4 separate regions of the Homo sapiens genome follow, and regions 1, 3 and 4 are each linked to region 2. The links are contacts of gene promoters, found by promoter capture Hi-C in blood cells and fetal thymus (Javierre and others, 2016). All regions are on one chromosome and are shown on one strand. The core of a region is centred on a gene start or on the middle of the fragment in contact, and the rest is flanking DNA. Distances in the headings are between cores, read along the strand shown.

Region 1 (5,851 bases), core at 1-2,500, 260 kb before region 2:
TGGGGAAGAAGAGCCTCACCTTCCTCCTTGCGACAGCCTTTGAAGCCTTCCGGGTCTCAATCCTGAAGGTGCGGACAATCTGAGGATGGGAGGGGAGAAGGGTCAGGCTCCTGGGACCAAGGGATCTCCTTTATCAACCTCCTCAACACACCCCACCCCATTCCGGTCTATGGGCCCCCAAGCACAAGGGTCCCCACTCCCTGCACCCCCCACCCTCACCTTGAACTTCTTGCCATCCTCATCTATCTTGTACTCTGTCACTGTCTTTATGTTTCCGTTGATGACCTCCTTGGGAGGCGGCAGTGGAGCTGGCAGAAGGGGAAAAACAGAGAAAGACTGAGCCCTGGGTCATGGGGATCAGGAGCGGCAGGGCTGGAGGGAGAGGCAGCCCGGACACCGAGTGGCAGTCCTCACTCACCTCCCGGCAGTCCTCACTCACCTCCCGGCAGTAGCTCTGGCTCTGGGCTGGTGTCACCTGTGGCCAGAGGGATCCCCTTGAGGAGCTCGCTGGTGACACATTTGTCTGCAAAAGGCAGCGTAGGAAGGAGGAGTCAGCTCCAGGGGCAGGAGCTCCCCAGCTGCGATGGAAGGGCTTTTGGGATGACGCCTACAGCAAAAGCGGAGAAAGGCAGGCCAAGGGCAGAGGGCTGGCCAGGCAACGCACTGGGATGGCCCTGTGGGGACTCGGAGTGGCAAGGATGGGAGATCCCTCGTAGGAAGGTGGGTGCCAGGCCATGAAGCCAACCAGGCGCCAGTAGAGAAACAGGAGACGGGAGATTACAACTTCCTCCCTGGAGGGGAACAGCTGGGAGGCAGTGGCATGGGAGGAAGAGGGACCCGCCGGGGAACACCTGGAGTTGGCAACAGGCGGGTCCCAAGGAGGATGGCGCGGGGCAGGGGCAGACCGTGACGGGGTACACGGTGCCAGACTGGGAGATGGAAGCAGGCGGCAGTCACACGGCTTGGGCCTGGCCGCGAATACCCCGGGCGACCGTGTACACTTACCGTCCTCCCCCTCCTCCTCCACCTGGTCGGCCCAACTGGGCTTCGAACTGCGGAAACAAATGTGTGGGGAACGAAGATTAAGTCAGCCAGGCCCGGCTCCCGCAGCCTCGGCGTACCCAGGCCCCATAATACTTCCCAGAGCACCCCAACCGCTTCCCGTGCCCCTTTCCGCGATCGCCGACTCACTCAAAGTCTCCAGTAGGCATCGCAAAAAGTATTCTCCACGCAGCCCAAGCCCGGCCAGAGAGCGGAAGCGGGCGAAAACGAGACTTCCGGTGCCGCCGTCGCCGCCTAGAGGGGCCCAGCCGCGGCACCCACAGCGACACCTGCGGACGGAGGTGGAGGCGCACGCGGCTGTGTATGCTACTGGGCGCTGCTGGTACCAGAGTAGGGCCAGCGGGGGCAGAGGCTGATTTCAGGGCTGGTCCTATTAACCTTTAAAATTAAAATAGGCCAGGCGAGGTGGCTCAAGCCTGTAATCCTCGCACTTTGGGAGGTCGAGGCGGGCGGATCACCTGAGGTAAGGAGTTCGAGACCAGCTTGGCCAACGTGGCGAAACCCCGTCACTACTAAAAACACAAAAATTAACTGGGCGTGGTAGTGCGTGCCTGCAGTTCCAGCTACTCGGGAGGCTGAGGCAGGAGAATCGCTTGAACCCGGGAGGCGGAGGTTGCAGTGAGCCGAGATCGCGCCACTGCACTCCAGCCTGGCGACAGAGCGAGACACCGTCTCAAAAAAAAAAAAAAAAAAAAAATTAGCCAGGCGTGGTGGTGGGCACCTGTAATCCCAGCTACTCGGGAGGCTGAGGCGGGAGAATCGCTTGAACCCAGGAGGCGGAGGCTGCAGTGAGCCGAGATCGCACCACTGCACTCCAGCCTGGGGCTGCAGAGTGAGACTCCGTCTCAGAAAAATAAGTAAAATTAAAATAAATAATAATAATCATAAAGCTCACTTATTGAGTGCTTATTGTATATGAAGCATGGTGAGGAGGATATTACTTCCATTTTACAGCTGAAGAAACTGAGGCTCAGACTGGGTGCAGTGGCGCCTGCCTGTAATCCCGCACTTTGGGAGACCAAGGCGTGGGGATGGCTTGAGGCCAGGAGTTTGAGACAAGCCTGGGCAACATAGTGAGACCCCTGTCTCTAAAAAAGAAAAAAAGAAAAAGAAAGAAAAAAGAAACCAAAGTTCGGGGAAAACAATCCTTTTGCTTAAACTGTTCCTTGTCTTCTTTCCCGATCCCAATGATTCAGATGCCAAGTGGCCTCCCCTCAGCCACTCCCTCTTCTTTTCTTTGTAGCATTCTTGGCTTTCCGGTATAATTTTGTGCATTTACTTGTTTATTGCTCAGCTCCTTGCTCTAAGCACAACCGTCCTCAGTCGAAGTGATTCATGATGACTCCCCAGGGGAAAAAACTGGTCCTCAGGGAGGAAAAAAATCTTAGATATTGTGGTCTTCCAAAGCCAGCTCTATCAGACAGCATTTATCCCTAAGTATTTAGTTTCTGCCTTTAGGGAGATATTAAATGTAATTAAATTGAAATTAATTTAGTTGATGTAAATTCAATTTTAGGATAATTCGGGTTTTCTCCTAAGAAGGGTGATAATGAACAAAAAACGTTTGACAATGTCGGACGCAGTGGCTCACGCCTGTAATCCCAGCACTTTGAGAGGCCAAGATGGGCAGATCTCTTGAAGTCAGGAGTTCGAGACCAGCCTGGGCAATATGGCGAAACCCCGTCTTTACTAAAAATACAAAAATTAGCTGGGTGTGGTGGCCCGCGCCTGTAATCCCAGAACTTTGGGAGACTGAGGCAGAAGGATCACTTCAGCCCTGGAATTCGACCAGCCTGGGCAACACATAGTGAGACCCCCCATCTCTAAAAAACAACTTTTTTTTTTTTTTTTGAGATGGAGTCTCACTCTGTCGCCCAGGCTGGAGTGCAGCGGCGCAATCGCGGCTCACTGCAACCTCTGCCTTCCGGGTTCTAGTGATTCTCCTGCCTCAGCCTCCCGAGTAGCTGGGATTACAGATGACCACCACCACGCCGTGCTAATTTTTGTGTTTTTAGTAGACGGTTTAGTAGAGACGGGGGCCCACCTCGGCCTCCCAAGGTGCTGGGATTACAGGTGTGAGCCACTGCGCCCGGCCCTTAAAAAAATTTTTTTTTTTTAATCAGCTGGGCATAGTTCTGTGTGCCTGTAGTCCCAGATACTCAGGAGGCTGAGGTGGGAGAACAGCTTCAGCCCAGGAGGTTGAGCCATGATCATGCGACTGTACTTCAGCCTGGGTAACAGAGAGAGACCCTGTCTCAAAAACACACACACGCACACACACACACGCAACAAAACAAAAAATAACTTGTAAGGGAGAATGCCCTGAGAAAAATAAATAAGAAGACAGGAAAAAAAAGTTTATGCTTTTTTATCCTCTGAGTTGTGAGTGAGGAGGCCACTCAAGTGTTTGGAATATCACCAACTTTTCTTGTGGAAAAAATTATTCTAGAAGCCTGTAGAGAGCCAAGTGGAAGGGAAAACATTAGCTGGAGAGCAGGAAAGAGAGGCACGCCGCTGTGGCCTTTCAGGAGGGTGGCCTGGCTATATTGGTGAAAATATGAAGCTGGTCCAAAGGACTGATAAACATTTTTACAAGCTTACTCAAATGTACTCTGAGCAACACAAAATCCAAACAACCCAGCAGATTGGGCAAAGCTTCAAAAATTCGATATCACCCCGTGGTAGTAAAGATGTTATAGGGAAACAGGCTGGGCACCTGTAATCGGGAGGCCGAGGTGGGTGGATCACCTGAGGTTAGGAGTTCAAGACCAGCCCCTGGCCAACATGGTGAGATGCCGTCTCTACTAAAAATACAAAAAAAAAAAAAAAAAAATCTGGCCATGGTGGTGGGTGCCTGTAATCCCAGCTACTTGGGAGGCTGAGGCAGGAGAATCGCCATTGCACTCCAGCCTGGGCGACAGAGCAAGACTCCATCTCAAAAAAAAAAAAAAAAAAAAGAGGAAGCGATATATAAAATGGCATATATTACAGGAACCAATTTGTGTAAATCTTCAACAGCACATAGATATGCAGATATATGCAAATCATTTCCTGGAAAGAAAGAATCAGAACCTGTTAATGAGGAATGCTTTGGAAAGAAGGCACCAAGAAAGGAAATATTATTTTTGGACATGTATTAATATATAATATGCATTTATGTAATATATGTGAGATGTAACATATAAATATATTTCTTGGCTGGGCACTGTGGTTCGTGCCTATAATCCCAGCAGTTTTGGAGGCCAAGGCAGAAAGATTTCTTGAGCCCAGGAGTTCAAGACCAGACTAGGCAACATCATTGAGACCCCATCACTACACACAAAAAATTGCTGGGTGTGGTAATGCACGCCTGTAGTCCCAGCTACCTGGGAGGCTGAGGTAGGAGGATTGCTTGAGCCCAGGAGGTCAAGGCTGCAGTGAGCTATGATTGTGCCATTACACTCTGGCCTGGGTGACAGAGCAAAAACCCTGTCTCTAAAAAAGAAAGAGGCTGAGCACAGTGGCTCACGTCTGTAATCCCAGCACTTTGGGAGGCCAAGGCAGGCAGATGACCTGAGGTCAGGAGATCAAGACCAGCCTGGAAAACGTGGTGAAAACCCATCTCTATTAAAAATACAAAAATTACCTGAGCATGTTGGTGCATGTCTGTAATCCCAGCTACTCAGGAGGCTGAGGCAGGAGAATCGCTGGAGCCCAGGAGGTGAGGCTGCCATGAGCCAAGTGCTGGGATTACACAGGTGTGAGCCACATCAAGGTTTGGGTGCAAGAGTACATCTGGTTATAGATTACAGAAGCATAATACCCTGACCCCATTAGATGTTATTTTATGTGTAGGAAAAGGTTTGAACCAGGTCCTTTTTTTTTTTTTTTTTTTTGAGATGGAGTCTCACTCTGTTGCCCAGGCTGGAGGGCAGTGGCACAATCTCGGCTCACTGCAAGCTCCGCCTCCTGGGTTCACGCCATTCTCCTGCCTCAGCCTCCTGAGTAGCTGGGACTACAGGCACCCGCCACCACGCCCAGCTAATTTTTGTATGTTTAGTCGAGATGGGGTTTCACCGTGTTAGCCAGGATGGTCTTGATCTCCCGACCTTGTGATCCGCCCACCTTGGCCTCCCAAAGTGCTGGGATTACAGGTGTGACCCACCCGTGCCCGGCCCAGGTCCTTTTTTTCTTTTTTCTTTTTTTTTTGGGGGACGGAGTCTTGCTCTATTGCCCAGGCTGGAGTGCAGTGGTGCGATCTCAGCTCACTGCAACCTCCGCCTCCTGGGTTCAAGCGGTTCTCCCGCCTCAGCCTCCTGAGTAGCTGGGATTACAGGCATGCACACCACCACACCCGGCTAATTTTGTATTTTTAGTAGAGACGGGGGTTTCTCCATATTGGTCAGGGTAGTCTCGAACTCCCGACCTCAGGTGATCCGCCTGCCTGGGCCTCCCAAAGTGCTGGGATTACAGGCATGAGCCACCGCACCTGGCACGCCTTTTTTTTTTTTTTTTTTTTTTTGAGACAGGGTCTTTCTCTGTCACCCAGGCTGGAGTGCAGTGGCACGATCACAGCTCACTGCAGCCTCAACCTCCCCAGGCTAAGGTGATGCCCTTGCCCTGGTCTCCCAAAATGCTGGGATCACAGGCATGAACCACCGTGCCCAGACTCATTTAAGGAATATAGTGACTCGGGCAAGGGACATGGTGTGCCCTGTGCTCTGTCCTGTTTTGTCTTCAAAGCCTTGTTCTGTAGAGCTGCGCAGACGTGTCTCACGTGTCTCAGAGTCAGGGGCTTTGTGAAATTACG
Region 2 (5,723 bases), core at 1,307-3,806:
GGATGGATGGGTGGGTGGGTGGATGGATGGGTGGTTGGGAGGGTGGATGGGTGGGTGGATGGGTGGATGGATGGATGGATGGATGAGTGGGTGGATGGGTGGGTGGATGGGTGGGTGGGTGGATAGACGGATGGATGGGGCCCAGCTGCTGCTTGCACACCCACCCCAGTCCCCATGGTGCCAACGCCCCAGACTCACCAACTTTATGTGCAATGTGGATGCAGACTTCCTCAGCTGTCAGCGATGACTCACTGAAAGTGACCCAGGGCTCCCCGCCGCCTGGACCAGCCCAGTGCAGAAGCACCTTCAGGCCTCCCATGGCAGCCATGGGCTGGGCTCCATCCCCAACGGGCTTACTGCCCCTGGCCATCCCCCAGTGGCGCAGAGGCATGCTCCCGGCAGGTGGCTCAGCTGGAAAGGGGACAATCTGTCAGCTCCCAAGTCTCAGCCCAGAGACCCCTGTTAGCTCTTCAACCTTCCACCCACCCCAGCTAAGGCCTGAGGGGAAGATTCTGGGCTCCCATCTTGGCATGACATTAGAGACCCGATTCCCTCTCTGAGTCTCGTTTTCCACATTTATTGGACAGGGTTGGGGTATGCATCCCCACCTAGATCTCTCATCAACAATAACACTGAACCCTCCTCTCTTTCCACAAATTGACACAGATATAAAAATCTGCTCTGGCCAGGTACAGTGGCTCACGCCTCTAATCCCAGGACTTTGGGATGTTGAGGCAAGAGGATTGCTTGAGCCCAGGAGCTCGAGACCAGCCTAGGCCATATAGCAAGACCCTGTTTCTACAAGACGTTTTATTTTATATCTTATCTTATCTTATCTTATCTTATCTTATCTTATCTTATCTTATTTTTGAGACAGAGTTTCACTCTTGTTGCCCAGGCTGGAGTGCAATGGTACAATCTTGCTCACCACAACCTCTGCCTCCTGGGTTTAAGTGATTCTCCTGCCTCAGCCTCCTGAGTAGCTGGCGCCTGCCACCACACCGGGCTAATTTTTGTATTTTTAGTAGAGACAGGGTTTTGCCATGTTGGCCAGGCTGGTCTTGAACCTCTGACCTCAGGTGATCCACCCGCCTCGGCCTCCCAAAGTGCTGGGATTACAGGCGTGAGCCACTGTGCCCGGCCTCTACAAGAAATTTTTAAAATTTAGCCAGGCGTGGGGGTGCACATCTGTACTCCAAGCTACTCGGGAGGCTGAAGTGGGAGGATCTCCTGAGCCCAGGAGTTGGAGGCTGCAGTGAGCAGTGATCGCACCACTGCATTCCAGCCTGGGTGACAGAGTGAGACCCTGACTCTAAAAATATAAATAAATAAATAAATAAATAAGTAATAAAAATATATAAAAAGGGCCAGGCGCGGTGGCTCATGACTGTAATCCCAGCACTTTGGGAGGCCAAGGCGGACAGATCACGAGGTCTGGAGATTGAGACCATCTTGACCAACATGGTGAAACCCCATCTCTACTAAAATACAATAAATAAATAAATAAATAAATAAATAAATAAATAAAAAGTAAAATAAAAATCTGCTCTTAACACACCTCCCCAAAATAACCAGACAGGCAGATGTGGTCAAACATACCTGAGGGTGAGTCCTGGAGCTCCCTGTGTCAACTCAAGCAAGCCACTTAGCAATTCTGGGCCTCAGTTTCCCCATCTGGAAAAGGGAGGTCCTCAGGGTGTTGCCATCAAAAGATGGTTGTAATGTTTCAATATAGTTCCGCATATTACACATTCAGCACAGACCCTGATTCAGGCACACACAAAAAGAACAAATATGACCAAAACAAGAATAACATAATTGTTATTAGTTTCATCGTGGTGATGGCCTCTTTCAGGCCACAATTCTCCTCTCCCACATTTACCCCCATGAGTGACCTCAGTCCCTGTTGACTCCCCAAAGCCTAGGAGAGTTTATGTCCAGCTCCATCCCCCCAATCCAGGGCCTGAGCCTCCTGAGGGCGCCAGTATGGAAGTGGAGGGGCTGTCACTTCCACCCATGTTGCTGGTTTCCTCATCTGGAAAATGGGCATGTAACAGTGTCTACCTCAAAAGGCTGCTGGGAGGATTTAACGCGAGGAGGCAGAGAAAGTGCCTGGTATACAGTAAGCGCTTAATTAGCCTTTGCCATTAATACCTATTCATGTTATAGATGAGATCCCGGGGATGGGGCTTTCGCGGAGCCTACTTCCTCCTTCCTCCTTTCTCGTCCCCACTGGACCCAGACCCAGCTTTGAAGACAGGGTCGGAGTGAAGTTTGCAACTGGGAAGGCTGCACGCCCCCATGTCCTCCCCCCAAAACCTCTAAACCCGGCCGGCAACGGCGGGAACTGGGATGTGCACCCACCGGGCATCGGAGCAGTCCCGAGGCACCAGGTGCTCCCATCCAAGTGCAGCCTGTCAAGCGCAGCCAGTCCCCGCGGCTTCTTCCTGAGGACCTCCGGCCGCGCTCCTTCCGCGCCCGCGTCCAGACTCACCCTTCCGGGGGAACACAAGCTCGAACCCGGACCCCTCCCCGCTCCCGCGGGTAGCTACTGCTTGTCCCCCGCCGAGACGCCTCCTCCCATTGGCCGCCTGAAACGCACACGCCCATTGGCAGCTGCTCTGTTCTCCCTGCTCGTCACCATTGGATTTTTTTTTTTTTGCCATGGTGGCGGCACTCTCATTGGTCCTGGGGCTCATTCGTCACTCAGCCGCGATTGGCTGAGTCGGCACCCAGATGCGCTGTCGCTTCTGCTATTGGCTGGCACTCGGTGGACGGAGACGGGGGAGGGGCTTGCGAGAGGCGGGAGGGAGAGCGAAGTGTGTGGGCAACGCGGCCGGATCCTGGAGTTCCCCTCCGTGCTGTGGAATTGGGTCAGGCGTGTACGGTCCTGACCCTAGGACACAGCTGCATGTCCTCACCTCGGTGTTCAAAGCTGCACCGGCCACCATTCAACCCTCCGACGCCCTGCCCTTTGGCTTCCCCGTTCCATCCGGTCCTGTCTCCTTTCCCTCGTTTCTACCTGGCCGACTCCATCCTGCTGACTAGAATTCCCCCTCCTTCACTCCTGGGAGGCATTCCTCGCCCACCTGCCCCAGTCCTCTTCCTGATCACCTGCAGCCCTGTCCTCTGAAGCTCCCTAGCGGTCAGGGTAGCAGCTTGGACATCCCGCCAGACGTGAATTCAAATCCCCACTCCGCAAGTCGTGCCCATTTGCTGAGAAGCCTACAGCCAGAGCGTTTCACATACATTATCTCATTTGATCCTAGCAGCAATTCCCTGTATGGCGGCTCTTATTATCCCCATTTCACAGAGGAAGAAACTCAGGCATGAAGAGGTAACAAAGACCGTCCTCTGACCCTTCTTCTGTGCCACACCATAACCACTCCTCGACTTTGTCTTTCACCTGCCCAGCCAAGTCTTAGCAAAGAAGCCTATTAAGTCATCCGCTCATCCTTGATGTCTGATCAACTTCCTCATCTTCCACTTTTTTTTTTTTTTTTTTTTAAGATGGAGTTTCGCTCTTGTCGCCCAGGCTGGAGTGCAATGCTGCGATCTCGGCTCACTGCAACCTCAGACTCCCGGATTCAAGCGATTCTCCTGCCTCAGCCTCCTGGGTAGCTGGGACAACAGGCGCCCGCCACCACGCCCGGCTAATTTTTGTATTTTTAGTAGAGATGGGATTTCACCATCTTGGCCAGGCTGGTCTCGAACTCCTGACCTCGTGATCCACCCTCCCAAAGCGCTGGGATTACAGGCGTGAGCCACCGCACCCGGCCCTTTTGTTGTTAATTTTTAAATTTTGTGGCTAATTTTTAAATTTTTGTAGAGATGGGGTCTGGCTATGTTGCCCAGGCTGGTCTTGAACTTCTGGCCTCAAGCAATCATCCTGCCTTGGCTTTCCAAAGTGCTGGGATTACAGATGTGAGCTAAGACACCCAGCTCCATGGAGTTGGTCTTAACTGCCATGGCCAAGGGACATGTGGCTGCTTCTCTCTGAGTCAGAAAATATGGGTAAAAAGCCTCCTCACAGGGCAGCTGTGGACATTCAGTATGAAAATGCTGAAAGAGATCGGGAATGGTCTCTTTCACACCTGTAATCCCAGCACTTTGGGAGGTGGAGGCGGGCGGATCACCTGAGGTCAGGAGTTCAAGACCAGACTGGCCAACATGGTGAAACCCTGTCTCTACTAAAAATGCAAAAATTAGCTGGGCATGGTGGTGGGCACCTGTAATCCCAGCTATTCAGGAGGCTGAGGCAGGAGAATCGCTTGAACTTGGGAGGCAGAAGTTGCAGTGAGCCGAGATCACACCATTGCCCTTCAGCCTGGGCAACAAGAGCTAAACTCTGTCTCAAAAAAAAAAAAAGAAAAAGAAAAAGAAAGAAAATGCTGATAGAGGCCGGGCACAGTGGCTCACGCCTGTAATCCCAGCACTTTGGGAGGCCGAGGTGGGCGGATCATGAGGTCAGGAAATCGAGACCATCCTGGCTAAGGCGGTGAAACCCCGTCTCTACTAAAAATACAAACAATTAGCTGGGCGTAGTGGCAGCCTGAGGCAGGAGAATGGCGTGAACCGGGGAGGCGGAGCTTGCAGTGAGCCGAGATTGCGCCACTGCACTCCAGCCTGGGCGCCAGAGTGAGACTCTGTCTCAAAAATAAAATAAAATAAAATAAAATAAAATGCTGATAGAGACTTGTCCTGGCTGGATGCAGTGGCTCATCCCTATAAACCTAGCACTTCAGGGAGCTAAAGAAGGAGTACTGTCTGGGCCCAGTTCAAGACCAACCTGGGCAATATAGCAAGACCCCATCTCTACCCAAAATAAAAAAAATTAGTCTAAGGCTGAAGTATGAGAATCGCTTGAGCCCAGGAGGTGGAGGTTGCAGTGGGCTGAGATCCCACCACTGCACTCCAGCTTGGGCTACAGAGTGAGACTCCATCTCGGGGGGAAAAAAAATTAGTTAGTCCCAGCTACTCCGAAGGCTGAGGTGGGAGGATTGCTTGAGCCCAGGAGGTTGAGGCTACAGTGAGCCGTGATCACACCACTGCACTCCAGCCTGGGCAACTTGACCTCCTGGGCTCTGCTGTATTTTCTTCAGAGTCCTTATTGCAACCTGACATTTCATGGGAAGTTTCTTTCTTTTTTTTTTTTTTTAAAGAGACAGAGTCTTGCTCTGTTGCCCAGGCTGGAGTGCAGTGGCGCAATCTTGGCTCACTGCAACCTCTGCCTCTCAGGTTCAAGCAATTCTCCTGCGTCAGCATCCCCGGTAGCTGGGATTACAGGCGTGCACCACCACGCCTGGCTAATTTTTGTATTTTTAATAGAGACAGGGTTTGGCCAGGTTGGCCATACTGGTCTCGAGCTCCTGACCTCAGGTGATCCACCCGCCTTGGCCTCCCAAAGTGCTGGGATTACAGATGTGAGCCACCGCGCCCAGCTGGGTTTCTCTTCTTTCTTTCTTTCTTTTTTTTTTTTTTTTTTTTTTTTTTGAGACAAGAATCTCGCTCTGTTGCCCAGGCTGGAGTGCAGTGCTGTGATCTCAATTCACTGCAGTCTCAACTTCCCAGATTCACCATTCACAATCTTCCACCTCAGCCTCCTGAGTAGCTGGGACTACAGATGTGCATCACGATGCCTGGGTAACTTTTTTTTTTTTGAGGCGGAGTCTTGCTCTGTTGCTAGGCTGAAGTGCAGTGGCACGATCTCGGCTCACTGTAAT
Region 3 (6,127 bases), core at 3,573-6,072, 280 kb before region 2:
AAAATAAAATAAAATAAAATAATAAATATAAAAATAACAGTAGGACTGGTGAGGCGGCTCAGGCCTGTGTTAAGGCGGGAAGACTGCTTGAGGCCAGGAATTCAAGACCAGACTCCAGACTGGGCAACGTATCCAGACCCTGTCTCTACCAAAAAAAAAAAAAAAAAAAGGAACTGCAAGTGCACAGAACCACATCTGGCTAATGTTTAAATTTTCTGTATAGTCAGGGTCTTGCTATGTTGCCTAGGCTGGTCTCCCCTGGCCTCAAGTGATCCACCTCTGCCTCCCAAAATGCTGAGATTACAGGTGTGACCCACCATGCCCTGCTAATTTTTAAACTATTTTGTAAATCTGGGCTCAGTGGCTCACACCTGTAATCCCAGCTCTTTGGGAGGCAGAGGCGGGAGGATCGATTGAGGCCAGGAGTTTGAAGCTGCAGTGAGCTATGATCGCAGCATTGCACTCCAGCCTGGGGACGAGAGCAAACCCTGTCTCTTAAAACAAAACAATAACAAAAAACAGCAAACTAGGTAAAGAATACGCAGGTCTGTGCAGGGGCAGCTTGAGAGGGGGTTGCCTAAAGGGAAGGCCTGGTGGAGGAGCAGATCTAAGTGCAAAAGCTCTGAGACTGGACCCTGCCTGATGTATTAAAGCAACCTGGGAGAGGTTAAAGCAAAAGCGAAGGGAGGCTGGGTGCTGTGGCTCATGTCTGTAATCCCAGCAGTTTGGGAGGCCAAGGTGGGTGGATCACCTGAGGTCAGGAATTCGAGACTAGCATGACCAACATAGTGAAACCCCATCTCTACTGAAAGTGCAAAATTAGCCGGGTGTGGTGGTACAGGCCTGAAATCTCAGCTACTTGGGAGGCTGAGGCAGGAGAATCACTTGAACCTGGGAGGTGGAGGTTGCAGTGAGCCGAGATCGCACCACCGCACTCCAGCCTGGACAACAAAAGCAAAACACTGTCTCAAAAAAAAAAAATAGCAAAGGGAGCAGGGTGCAAGGAGGTGAGGTGGGGTGAGGGAAACGTCTCACTAACTGCCTTCCCATCCGTCGGATATTGGAAACCCCATCTTCCACGTCCTCAGACCAAAACCCCAGCAGATCCAACCCATCTCAGCAGATCTAATCCATCAGCCAGACCCGTCTGCTCTTCTGCTTAGATCCTGAATTCCTCCACGTCTCCGCTACTCCCCACTGCCCCCAGACCCTCCCTGAATTCCCAGCTCAAGACACCATCTGGATGACAGCAGCTGCCTCCCTGCTCTCTGGATTTCCATCCTCAACCCCAGGTCTAGTCTCTCTGACAGCAGCCAGAGGGCGCCTGTGAACATCTGAGTCAGTTCACGTCCCTCCCTCCCTCCTCTGCCCTGAATCCTTCTTGGCTCCCACCTCCTTTAGAGGAAAAGCCCAAATCCACCCATGATCCATAAAAAGTTGCGCTATCTTGGTGACTCACGCCTGTAATCCCAGCACTTTGGGAGGCGGAGGCGGGCGGATCACGAGGTCAGGAGATCGAGACCATCCTGGCTAACACAGTGAAACCCCGTCTCTACTGAAAATACAAAAAAAGTAGCCAGGCGTGGTGGCGGCTGCCTGTAGTCCCAGCTACTCGGGAGGCTGAGGCAGGAGAATGGCTTGAACCCGGGAGGCAGAGCTTGCAGTGAGCCGAGACTGTGCCACTGCACTCTAGCCTGGGCAACAGAGCAAGACTCCATCTCAAAAAAAAAAAAAAAAAAAAAAAAACTTGTGCTATCTGCCATATCCCCTTCTGCCCTCCTCCCAGGCCCTTCCTCACACGAAGCAAGTTCCAGCCTCAGGTCCTTTGTACCTGCTGTTTTTGCAGCCTGGAACATTGTTCACAACTTAACATCATTCCCTTCCTATCCTTATTCAAGTCTCAGCAGCGCTCCTTGAACAGCAGATTTAGGGTTGTACCTCCATATACAAGCTCTCTCTCTCTCTGTCTCTCCCTCTCTCTCTCTCTCTTTCTCTCTTTCTCTCTCTCTCTCTCTCTCTCTCCCCCACGCCCTCTTTTTTTTTTTTTTAGACGGAGTCTCGCTCTGCAATCTCAGCTCACTGCAACCTCCACCTCCCGGGTTCAAGTGATTCTTGTGCCTCAGCCTCCCAAGAAGCTGGGATTACAGGCATGCGCCACCACACCCAGCTAATTTTTGTATTTTTAGTAGAGACAGGGTGCCTGATCAACAGGTGAAATCCCGTCTCTACTAAAAGTACAAAAAATTAGCTGGGCGTGGTGGCGCATGCCTGTAATCCCAGCTACTCGGGAGGCTGAGGCAGAAGAACGGCTTGAACCTGGCAGAGGTTGCAGTGAGCTGAGACCGCACCACTGCCTTCTAGCCTAGGCAACCTGGGTGAGACTCCATCTCAAAAAAAAAGAAAAAAAAGAGAGAGTCGTGCTCTGTTGCCCAGGCTGGAGTGCAGTGGAGCAATCATAGCTCACTGTAGCCTCCAATTCCTGCACACAAGTGGTCCTCCTGCCTCAGCCTCCTGAGTGGTTGGAACTACAGGTGCGCACCACCATGCCCAGCTACTTTTTTGTAGGGAGGGGGTCTCACTGTGTTGCCCAGGCTAGTCTCAAACTCCCAGGCTCAAGTGATCCTCCCACCTTGGACTCCCAAAGTGCTGAAATTACAGATGTGAGCAACCACACTGGCCCTAAACCTATGCTTCCTGATGCCTGCACAAGCACATATCCCGAGGGTCTCCATCTCACACACACATTGCCTCATTCATGCATTCAACCACAGACACCTTGAGTGCCTATTGTGTGCCAGGGATGCTGTTTTAGGCAATGAGGACACAGCCTTAACCCAAACAGACAAAATTCCTGCCCTTGCAGAGCTGACATTCAAGTTGGGAGAACAGAGAAATAAGTCAAACAGCCGCTAGGTAGGTCAGAGGGTAATCGTGCTTAGGAGAAAAATGGAACAGGCAAGGGGGTGACAGTCCCGGAGGTGGGGGACATTTAATAGAGGAGTCAGGACTGGGTGTGCTGACTCACGCCTGTAATCCCAGCACTTTGGGAGGCCGAGGTGCCTGTAATCCCAGCACTTTGGGAGGCCGAGGTGCCTGTAATCCCAGCACTTTGGGAGGCTGAGGTGGGAGGATCACTTGAGGCCAGGAGTTTGAGACCAGCTTGGCTAACGTGGCGAAACCCTGTCTCTACTGAAAATACAAAAATTAGCCAGGCGTAGTGGCACGCGCCTGTAGTCTCAGCTACTCAGGAGGCTGAGACACAAGAATCACTTGAACCCGGAAGGCAGAGGTTGCAGTGAGCCATGATTGCACCACTGCACTCCAGCCTGGGCAATAGAGCGAGACTCTGTCTCAAAAAAAAATAAAATAGAGGAGTCAGGAAAGGCCTCACAGAAGAAGTGACACTTGACTGGAACAGTGCCTCATGCCTGTAATTTCAGCACTTTGGGAGGCCAAGGCAGGAGGATTGCTTGAGCCTAGGAGTTTGAGACCAGCCTGGCCAATATGGTGAAAGTCCATTTCTACTAAATATAAAAATAAAAATAAAATAAAGAATAAGGGACACTTTCACAAAGACCTGATGGAAGAGAGAGAAGAGGAAGAGCATTCCAGGCAGAGAGAACAGCAGGTGCAAAGGCCCGGAGATTGCACCCAAGAAATGGCAGAAAGGGGCCAGGCACGGTGGCTCACGCCTGTAATCCCAGCACTTTGGGAGGCCGAGGCGGGAGGATCACCTGAGGTCGAGAGTTCAAGACCAGCCTGGCCAACATGGTGAAACCCCGTCTCTACTAAAAATACAAAAATTAGCTGGGCATGGTAATGCATGCCTGTAATCCCAGCTACTACTCAGGAGGCTGAGGTGGGAGAGTCACTTGAACTCAGGAGGCCGATGTTGCAGTGAGCAGAGATTGCGCCATTGCACTCCAACCTGGGCGACAGAGCAAGGCTCAAAAAAAAAAAAAAAAAAAAGGCCAGGTGCGGTGGCTCACGCCTGTAATCCCAGCACTTGGGAGGCCAAGGCAGGTGGATCACGGGGTCAGGAGATCGAGACCATCCTGGCTAACACAGTGAAATTCCGTCTCTACTAAAAATACAAAAAAAAAAAAAAAAATTAGCCGGGCATGGTGGCGAGCGCCTGTAGCCCCAGCCACTCCAGAGACTGAGGCAGGAGAATGGCGTGAACCCGGAAGGCGGAGCTTGCAGTGAGCTGAGATCGCGCCACTGCACTCCAGCCTGGGTGACAGAGCGAGACTCTGTCTCAAAAAAAAAAAAAAAAAAAAAAAGAAATGGCAGAAATGTCTATGAGGCCGGAAGAGAGAAGGGGGAAGCAGGAGGAGGTAAGAAGTGTCAGGGCAAAGTGTGAAGGGTCCTGTGGGCCCGGAGGAGGACTTGGGTTTTACTCTGAGTCAGGCAGGAGCCATGGAGGGTTCTGGGCTGGAGATGGCCACATTTACTTCTGGACTCAGACACCAAGCAGGGGCTCACAAGGATCCGGGGGTAGGGTCCTCTCTTTGTCCCCGATCACTGACATGCCCCACCCCCCACAACAGAGATTGAGCAACCCCCCAGAACTGGGACGTGTGTATAACACCCGCTGCCTTTTACACTCTCAGCCTGGGGTGGCGGGGTGGCCTGGGGGCCCCCAAGCCAAGCTGTGGTCGGAGTTTCCCCACAGTGAGAATCAACCTCCACCTACCTTCCCACCCTCTCACCTCTGATGCCCAAGACCCTGAATCCAGCGAAGCTCACAGAACACACAAGAAGTCCAAGGAAGAGCCGAGGGTCCAGTGGGGCCTCTGAGCTAGAGACGGGGAGAGGGCAGTGGGACAGAAGGAGAGAGGAGGCTTGGTAACCACTCCCCAGCCCCCAGAGCCTGGGAGTGGAGCTGGGATGCTGGGCCCAGGAGCCCAAACTATAAATATTTAGCATTTCCCGAATGAGAAATGAGACAGAATTGCCAGACCCCCCTGCCCAGGCCACCAGAGCCTGATAACACAGGTCAGTGTCCTGGACATCCCTCCCTTTCCCCCACACCCTCCACTGCAGAGCCCAGAGCGTGGGAGGCTGCAGGCCCTGGGGCAGCCAGGCGTGATCCCAGCCCCAGACACGCACACACCACACATAGAAAGAGGAACATCACTGGGGACTTACCGTGTGTAGGGCTTGGCTCTAAACTCTCCACACCTTTTACGTATTTGATCCTTACAACCTGAGCTGGATTCTGTATGTACCCTCATTTTACAGCAGGGAAAACTGAGGCTCAGAGAGGGTAAGCAACTTGCCTGCGGTCACACAGCCAAAAAGAGACCAGGATGGGAGCCAGCCAAGGTAGCTTGACTCAGAAACTCACACATGTACACCACAGCTGTCACACACATATGGGCACATAACAGAGTGGACACAAACACACACACACACATTTGCACGCACGCACACATTAACACCCAGCGAAAGTCTGGGTGCAGTGGCTCATGCCTGAAAGCCAGCACTTTGGGAGGCCGGGGCAGGTGGATTACCTGAGGTCAGGAGTTCGAAACCATCCTTGCCAACATGCTAAAACCCCGTCTCTACTAACAATACAAAAATTAGCTGGGCATGGTGGCATGCGCCAGTAATCCCAGCTACGCGGGAGGCTGAGGCAGGAGAATTGCTTGAAGCCAGGAGGTGGAGGTTGCAGTAAGCCGAGATCGAGCAACCGCATGCACTCCAGCCTGGGCGACAAGACTGAAATTCCATCTCAAAAATAAATAAATAAATAAATAAATAAATAATAAATAAATAATAATAAAGTGAGGAATTAATTAATTAAAATAAAAAATAAATATAAAAGACACAGCTGTAAATTTTTAAATTGTGATAGAAACAATATATTCTTAAAGTGAAAACCCTACCTCAGTTACATGTGATTTATGTTTTTTGGATTAATCTGGATTTTATAATTAGAAATAAAAATGTAAGGCTGGGCGCGGTGGCTCACGCCTGTAATCCCAGCACTTTGGGAGGCCAAGGTGGGCAGATCACGAGGTCAGCAATTCGAGACCAGCCTGGCCAAGATGGTGAAACCCCGTCTCTACTAAAAATACAAAAATTTGCCGGGTGTGGTGGCCCATGCCTGTAATCCCAGCTA
Region 4 (5,486 bases), core at 2,228-4,727, 510 kb before region 2:
GCGGGGAGTTTTGTTTGCTGTGCAAACAATTCATCCGTGATCCTCAGAACCTGGCACAAGGTATGTTTGTTGAATGAGGATGCTGATGAACCAGTGGGACAGAGAGCAAACACCTTCACAGGTCTACCGTGAATTTCTCCTTTCTGCCACGGAGCTTGCTTCTGTTGTTCGTCCTAGGGAAGGATCACCTGAGATTAGGCTGCAGACAGGTGCCCAGTAGGCTAGGCAGAGGCTGTGGCTTCTCTCTGACTGCGAGAATGGCAGGAGGGCCGTGATGAATGATGGAGAATGTGCCTGTCTGCTATGTCTGAGCCGTGACAGGGGGCCACGTCCCTTTGGAAAGCTTGAGATAATAGCAGCCTGCTCTTGTCAAACCTTGAGGTATTGGGCAAATATCCCCTGAGTGATAAGCTTGACAGGCCTTAAAGAAGATATCAGCCAGGCGCTGTGGCTCATGCTTGCATTCCCAGCACTTCGGGAGGCCAAGGCAGGCAGATGGCTTGAGCTTAGGAGTTCGGGACCAGCCTGGGCAATATGGTAAGACCCTGTCTCTACCAAAAATACAAAATAATTTAGCCAGGCATGGTGGCACGAGCCTGTGGTCCCAGCTACTCAGAAGGCTGAGGTGGGAGGATCGCCTGAGCCTGGGAGGCAGAGGTTGCAGTGAGCCGAGATCACGCCACTGCACTCCAACCTGGGTGACAGAGCGAGACCCTGTCTCAAAAGAAAAAAAAAAAAATATTAGTTCACCCGCGCCATGCTGGAAGCCTGGGAACCGCCTGGGGCCTCCCTCAGCCTGAGAACTGGGGTTTTGCCTGGAAGAGCCTTGTGGGTCGGGGAGGGGTCAGGATAGAAAGTGATTGTGAATCCACATATTCATTCATCCATCCATTCATTCACCTTTCCACCCATTCATCCATCTATCCATTCATTCATAAAACCAACCATCTATCCATCTATCCATCCATTCATTCATCTGCTCATCCATTTATCTGTTTACCCATTCATTCATTCATCCATTCACTCGTATTCATTCATCCAACCATCCATTTATATACATCCATCCATCTATCCATCCATCCATTCATTCATCTGTCCATCCATCCCTCCCCAAGCTCTACTCCCATTCTGAATTTCATATTTTACTTAACACTTGTAGAGCTCGCTCTTCTTAGTTGCTTTACAAATATTACCAAAATTCAATCCTTAGAGCCCCATCTCATGGTAGGTACTAACACTAGCTCCATTCTACAGATGGGAAAACTGAGATACAGAGAAAAGTCAAGTTACCCAAATTCACAGAGCTGGGATTTGGATGCCAGCCTATCAGACTCTCAGCCACTATGCTGGGAGGACAAGAGTCACTTCCTTCAGGGTCTCACTCTGCCGCGCAGGCTGGAGTGCAGTGGTGTAATCACGGCGCGATCACTGCTCACTGCAACCTCCACCTCCCAGGCTCAAGCCATCCTCTCATTTCAGCTCCCTGAGTAGCTGGGACTACAGGTGCACACCACCACGCCAGGCTAATTTTTGTATTTTTTGTAGAGACGGGGTTTCACCATGTTGCCCAGGCTGGTCTTGAACTCCTGGGTTGAAGGGATCCACCTGCCTCAGCCTCCCAGAGTATTGTGTTTACAGGCGTGAGCCATCACACCTGGCCAACATTTTTGGTTTTTTAAGAGACAGGGTCTCAAGCAGTTGTCCAGGCTGGAGTGCAGGGGCATGATCATAGCTCACTGCATCTTCAGCCTCCTAGGCTCAAGCAGTTCTCTTGCTTCAGCCTCCGGAGTAGCTGAGACCACAGGTGTGTGCCACCACACCCTGATACTTTTTTTATTTTTATTTTTGTTTTGAGATAGGGTCTTGCTCTGTCCCCCAGGCCGTGTCCCACATTGGTGTGATCATGGCTCACTGCAGCCTCAACCTCCCAGACTCGAGCAATCCTCCCACCTTAGCCTCCCAAGTAGCTGGGACTACCGATGTACACTATCATGCCCAGCTAATTTTTTTTTTTTTTTTTTTTTTTTTTTTTTTTTTTGTAGAGACAGGATCTCACTATGTTTCCCAAGCTAGTCTCGAACTCCTGACCTCAAGCGATCTTCCCATCTTGGTCTCCCAAAGCGCTGAAATTACAGGTGTGGGCCACCATGCCTACCTAATCAACTTTTACTTTTGGAATTATTTTAGGTTTACAGAAAAGTTACAACAATAATACAGAGAGCTCCTGTGTACCTCTCATCCTGACTTCCCTGTTATTACATCTTACATAACCATGATACACTTGTCACAACTAAGAAATCAACATCCGTGCATCCATTACTATTAACTAAACTCTAGACTTTATTCAAATTCCCCAGTTTTCCCACTTGAGTGCTTTTTCTGTTCCAGAATCTAATGCAGGATCCCACGTTACACTCAGTGGTTATCACATGTCTTTAGACTTATCTGGTCTATGACGTTTCTGTCTTGTTTTTTCTGACCTTGACAGTTTTGAGGATTACTGGCCAGGGAGTTTTGGAGAATGCCCCACTGGCCTTTTTTTTTTTTTTTTTAAGAGAGATGGGGGTCTCACTATGTTGCCCAGGCTAGACTCAAACTCCTGACCTTAAGTGACCCTCCCACCTAAGCCTCCCAAAGTGGTGGCATTACAGACATAAGCCATCATGCCCAGCCACCACCGGCTTTTATTTTATTTATTTATTTTTGAGATAGAGTCTCCCTCTGTCGCCCAGGCTGGGGTGCAGTGGAGCCATCTCGGCTCACTGCAACCTCTACCTCCTGGGTTCAAGCGATTCTCCTGCCTCAGCCTCCCAAGTAGCTGGGACTACAGGTGTGCACCACCATGCCTGGCTAACTTTTCTATTTTTAGTAGAGATGGGGTTTCACCATGTTGGCCAGGCTGGTCTCAAATTGCTGACCTCAAGTGATCCACCCACCCTGGCCTCCCAAAGTGCTGGGATTACAGGCATGAGCCACCGCACCCAGTCTTTTATTTTATTTTTTAGAGACAAGGTCTTGCTGTGTTGCCCAGACTGGTCTTGAACTCCTGAGCTCAAGTAATCCTCCTGCCTCGGCCTCACAAAGTGCTGGGATTACAGGCATGAGACACTGCACCCGTCCCCTAATGGCTTTTGAGGGCAGGAACTGTGGCCTCACTTTGCTGGACGTTTCCCCAGCCTGTAACCCAATGCAGTAGCTGCTTCAGACGCTTCCTAAATGAACAAATATTGAATGGCCATCACTGAGAGCTTTATCTTCCTGTGCTCCCTGTTCCGCAGGCATCCCTGCCAGAGGCTAGATCTAGAAGAGTTCACGGCGAAATAAAAGCTTTTCTCCTTTCAGAAAGATTTGTTTTTGATCCTTTCTTTGTAGACATCAAGGATTCATTTCTTTAATATTTAAGGGCTTTTGTACCAAAGAGAAGCAGCCGCATTTGCATCAGTCTCATTTTTTCAAGGCAGGCGAGAGAGATCTTTCTAGCAAGATGGGGTTTCTTCCTTCACGGAGCTGTCACTTGATTTATCTGCTTCTCCTTCCCCAGCCTTCATGCCTCTGGCAGGGGGCAGGGAAGAGCGAGGGTTCTGGAATGATCCACAGACTCTGATGTCCTCTCTGCCACAGCCCAAGGAAGCTTAATTAGAACCTCGCCAATTTGCTGGGACTGAGGTGGCCTTAGGAGCTGGTGCAGGGGCCTGGCCGGGGATGAAGATGAATTAGCAGCTTTTTTTTTTTTTTGAGACAGGCTGGAGTGCAGTGGCACGATCACGACTCACTGCAGCTTCGACTTCCCTGGCTCAGGTGATCCTCCCACCTCAGCCTCCCGGGTAGCTGGGACCACAGGCACTTACCAGCACATCTGGTTGTTTGTTGTTGTTGTTTTTCTTTTGTTTTTTGTTTGTTTTTTCTCACAGAGACAGGGTATCGCCCTGTCTCAAACTCCTGAGCTCAAGCAATCCTCCCACCTCGGCCTCCCCAAGGTGCTGGGATTACAGGTATGAGCCACTGCACCTGGCCTGAATTAGCAGTTTTATTTCCTGTCCCTCTGAATAGCTCAATAGCTACCACGGGGACCAAAAGCCTGCCTTGGGTACACAGAGCATGTCCCTTTTCTAACATTAGCTGGTCAGAAGTGGGAATCCCTTTAGCCATGCAGGCCTGCAGGTCTCACTGCTTTTTATTTCTCAGCCCCAGGAGGCCAAGCTGAAGGCAGAGAATCTAAAGAAGCTGTCTTCAGCGAGGTCATCTCCCCGCCACCGAGGTCCCTACTGCTGGGAGACACTGGCCCCAATTTAATCTCTTGCCTGAAGTTTTTCAGACGTAAAAATGAGCCTGGGTGAGCTTTTCAGATAGTTCCTTCAACTTACAGGAATTCAATTTCTGGCCTGGATATAAATTTGCAGCCATCAGCGCCCGTGGTAGGGGCTGGGGCTGGGCGCTTTGGCCGGGGATGGATTTCTGAAATCAATCCGTCCGCGTGTGGAAAAGGTCGCCATGGGGGACATTTAACTTCCATGGCTGGCTGAGGCATTTCACACCGATAGCCAGGGACACCCCTATACAAAATGGAAGTGTTTGCTGCGAGTCCCCCAGGCAGCGGCTGGAGGGAGGCCTCGAAGGCTGGACAGCACAGCCAGGAGGTGACATTGATCAACCTGCCAATAACAGACAGCCAGGTACCAGGACTCCTGAAAACCCACCTCCAAGGGCTCTTTCCTGCTAGGTCCCCATGCGCCCCTGCGGGTGGCAAGTCCACTCTGGGTCCAAACCCTTTATCCCTTGGCTACACCTCCAACACACATTCCAGGGTTTCAAAGAAATGAGTCTCAAATGCATTCAATTCCCCCAGTGGAGGTGGGAGGACGTGGTCATTAAGGGTCTCCTAGGTTCGAGCCTCAGGTCTGCCGTGTGACCTTGGGCTACTGACTTAACCATCCTGTGCCTCCGTTCCCCCAGTTAGAGTATATAGCTAAGAATAGTACTGATGTCATGAGGTGGTTGTTAATATATCAGAATGGCTTAACGTAATGTTATGGTTTGAATGTGTCCCCGCAAAATTCATGTGTTGGAAACGTAATCCATTTTATTTATTTATTTATTTAAAGTGAAAGCAAGTTTATTAGAGAAGTAAAGAAACAGAAGAATAGCTACTTCAGAGGCTGGGTGCGGTGGCTCACACCTGTAATCCCAACACTTTGGGAGGTCAAGGGGGGCAGATCACTTAAGGCCAGGAGTTCGAGACCAGCCTGGCCAACATGGTGAAATCCTGCCTCTAGTAAAAATACAAAATTTAGCTGGGCATGATGGCGGGCGCCTGTAATCCCAGCTACTCGGGAGGCTGAGGGATGAGAATCGCTTGAACCAGGTAGGTGAAGGTTGCGATGAGCCGAGATGGTGCCACTGCACTCCAGCCTTGGCGACAGAGTGAGACTCCATCTCAAAAAAAAAAAAAAAAAAATATGGCCAGGTGCGGTGGCTCACACCTGTAA

The links. The method cuts DNA at HindIII sites, captures the fragments that hold promoters and counts their contacts. A CHiCAGO score of 5 or more calls a contact.
Region 1: a contact is called between the fragment with the promoter of EIF3G here and the fragment with the promoter of TYK2 in region 2, in 6 of 17 cell types (erythroblasts, monocytes, endothelial precursors and 3 more). The highest score is 7.4, in erythroblasts.
Region 3: the fragment with the promoter of ANGPTL6 here is called in contact with the fragment with the promoter of TYK2 in region 2 in 1 of 17 cell types (neutrophils); the score reaches 5.2 in neutrophils.
Region 4: a contact is called between a fragment that was not itself captured here and the fragment with the promoter of TYK2 in region 2, in 1 of 17 cell types (total CD8 T cells). The highest score is 5.0, in total CD8 T cells.

The regions. Positions count from the first base shown.
Region 1 is chr19:10,118,649-10,124,499 of GRCh38, forward strand. EIF3G (eukaryotic translation initiation factor 3 subunit G) reads right to left here and starts at 1,251. Exons shown (of 11, transcript NM_003755.5): 1 at 1,192-1,251; 2 at 1,006-1,052; 3 at 440-523; 4 at 220-308; 5 at 20-79. The coding sequence starts at 1,211. RefSeq lists enhancers at 1-753, 754-1,509. The HindIII fragment of the contact is 4,736 bases long and covers 1-3,656 here.
Region 2 is chr19:10,378,016-10,383,738 of GRCh38, forward strand. TYK2 (tyrosine kinase 2) reads right to left here and starts at 2,557. Exons shown (of 25, transcript NM_003331.5): 1 at 2,365-2,557; 2 at 1,600-1,764; 3 at 199-411. The coding sequence starts at 391. RefSeq lists enhancers at 2,455-2,614, 2,523-3,186. The HindIII fragment of the contact is 15,548 bases long and covers 1-5,723 here.
Region 3 is chr19:10,097,856-10,103,982 of GRCh38, forward strand. It overlaps ANGPTL6 (angiopoietin like 6), which reads right to left and starts at 4,823. Exons shown (of 6, transcript NM_031917.3): 1 at 4,713-4,823. RefSeq lists a silencer at 1,368-1,417 and enhancers at 4,833-4,882, 4,953-5,002. The HindIII fragment of the contact is 11,381 bases long and covers 1-6,127 here.
Region 4 is chr19:9,871,794-9,877,279 of GRCh38, forward strand. The region is part of intron 1 of OLFM2 (olfactomedin 2); the gene reads right to left. Among named protein-coding and RNA genes, the nearest start is that of PIN1, 39 kb to the left of the region's middle. The HindIII fragment of the contact is 304 bases long and covers 3,326-3,629 here.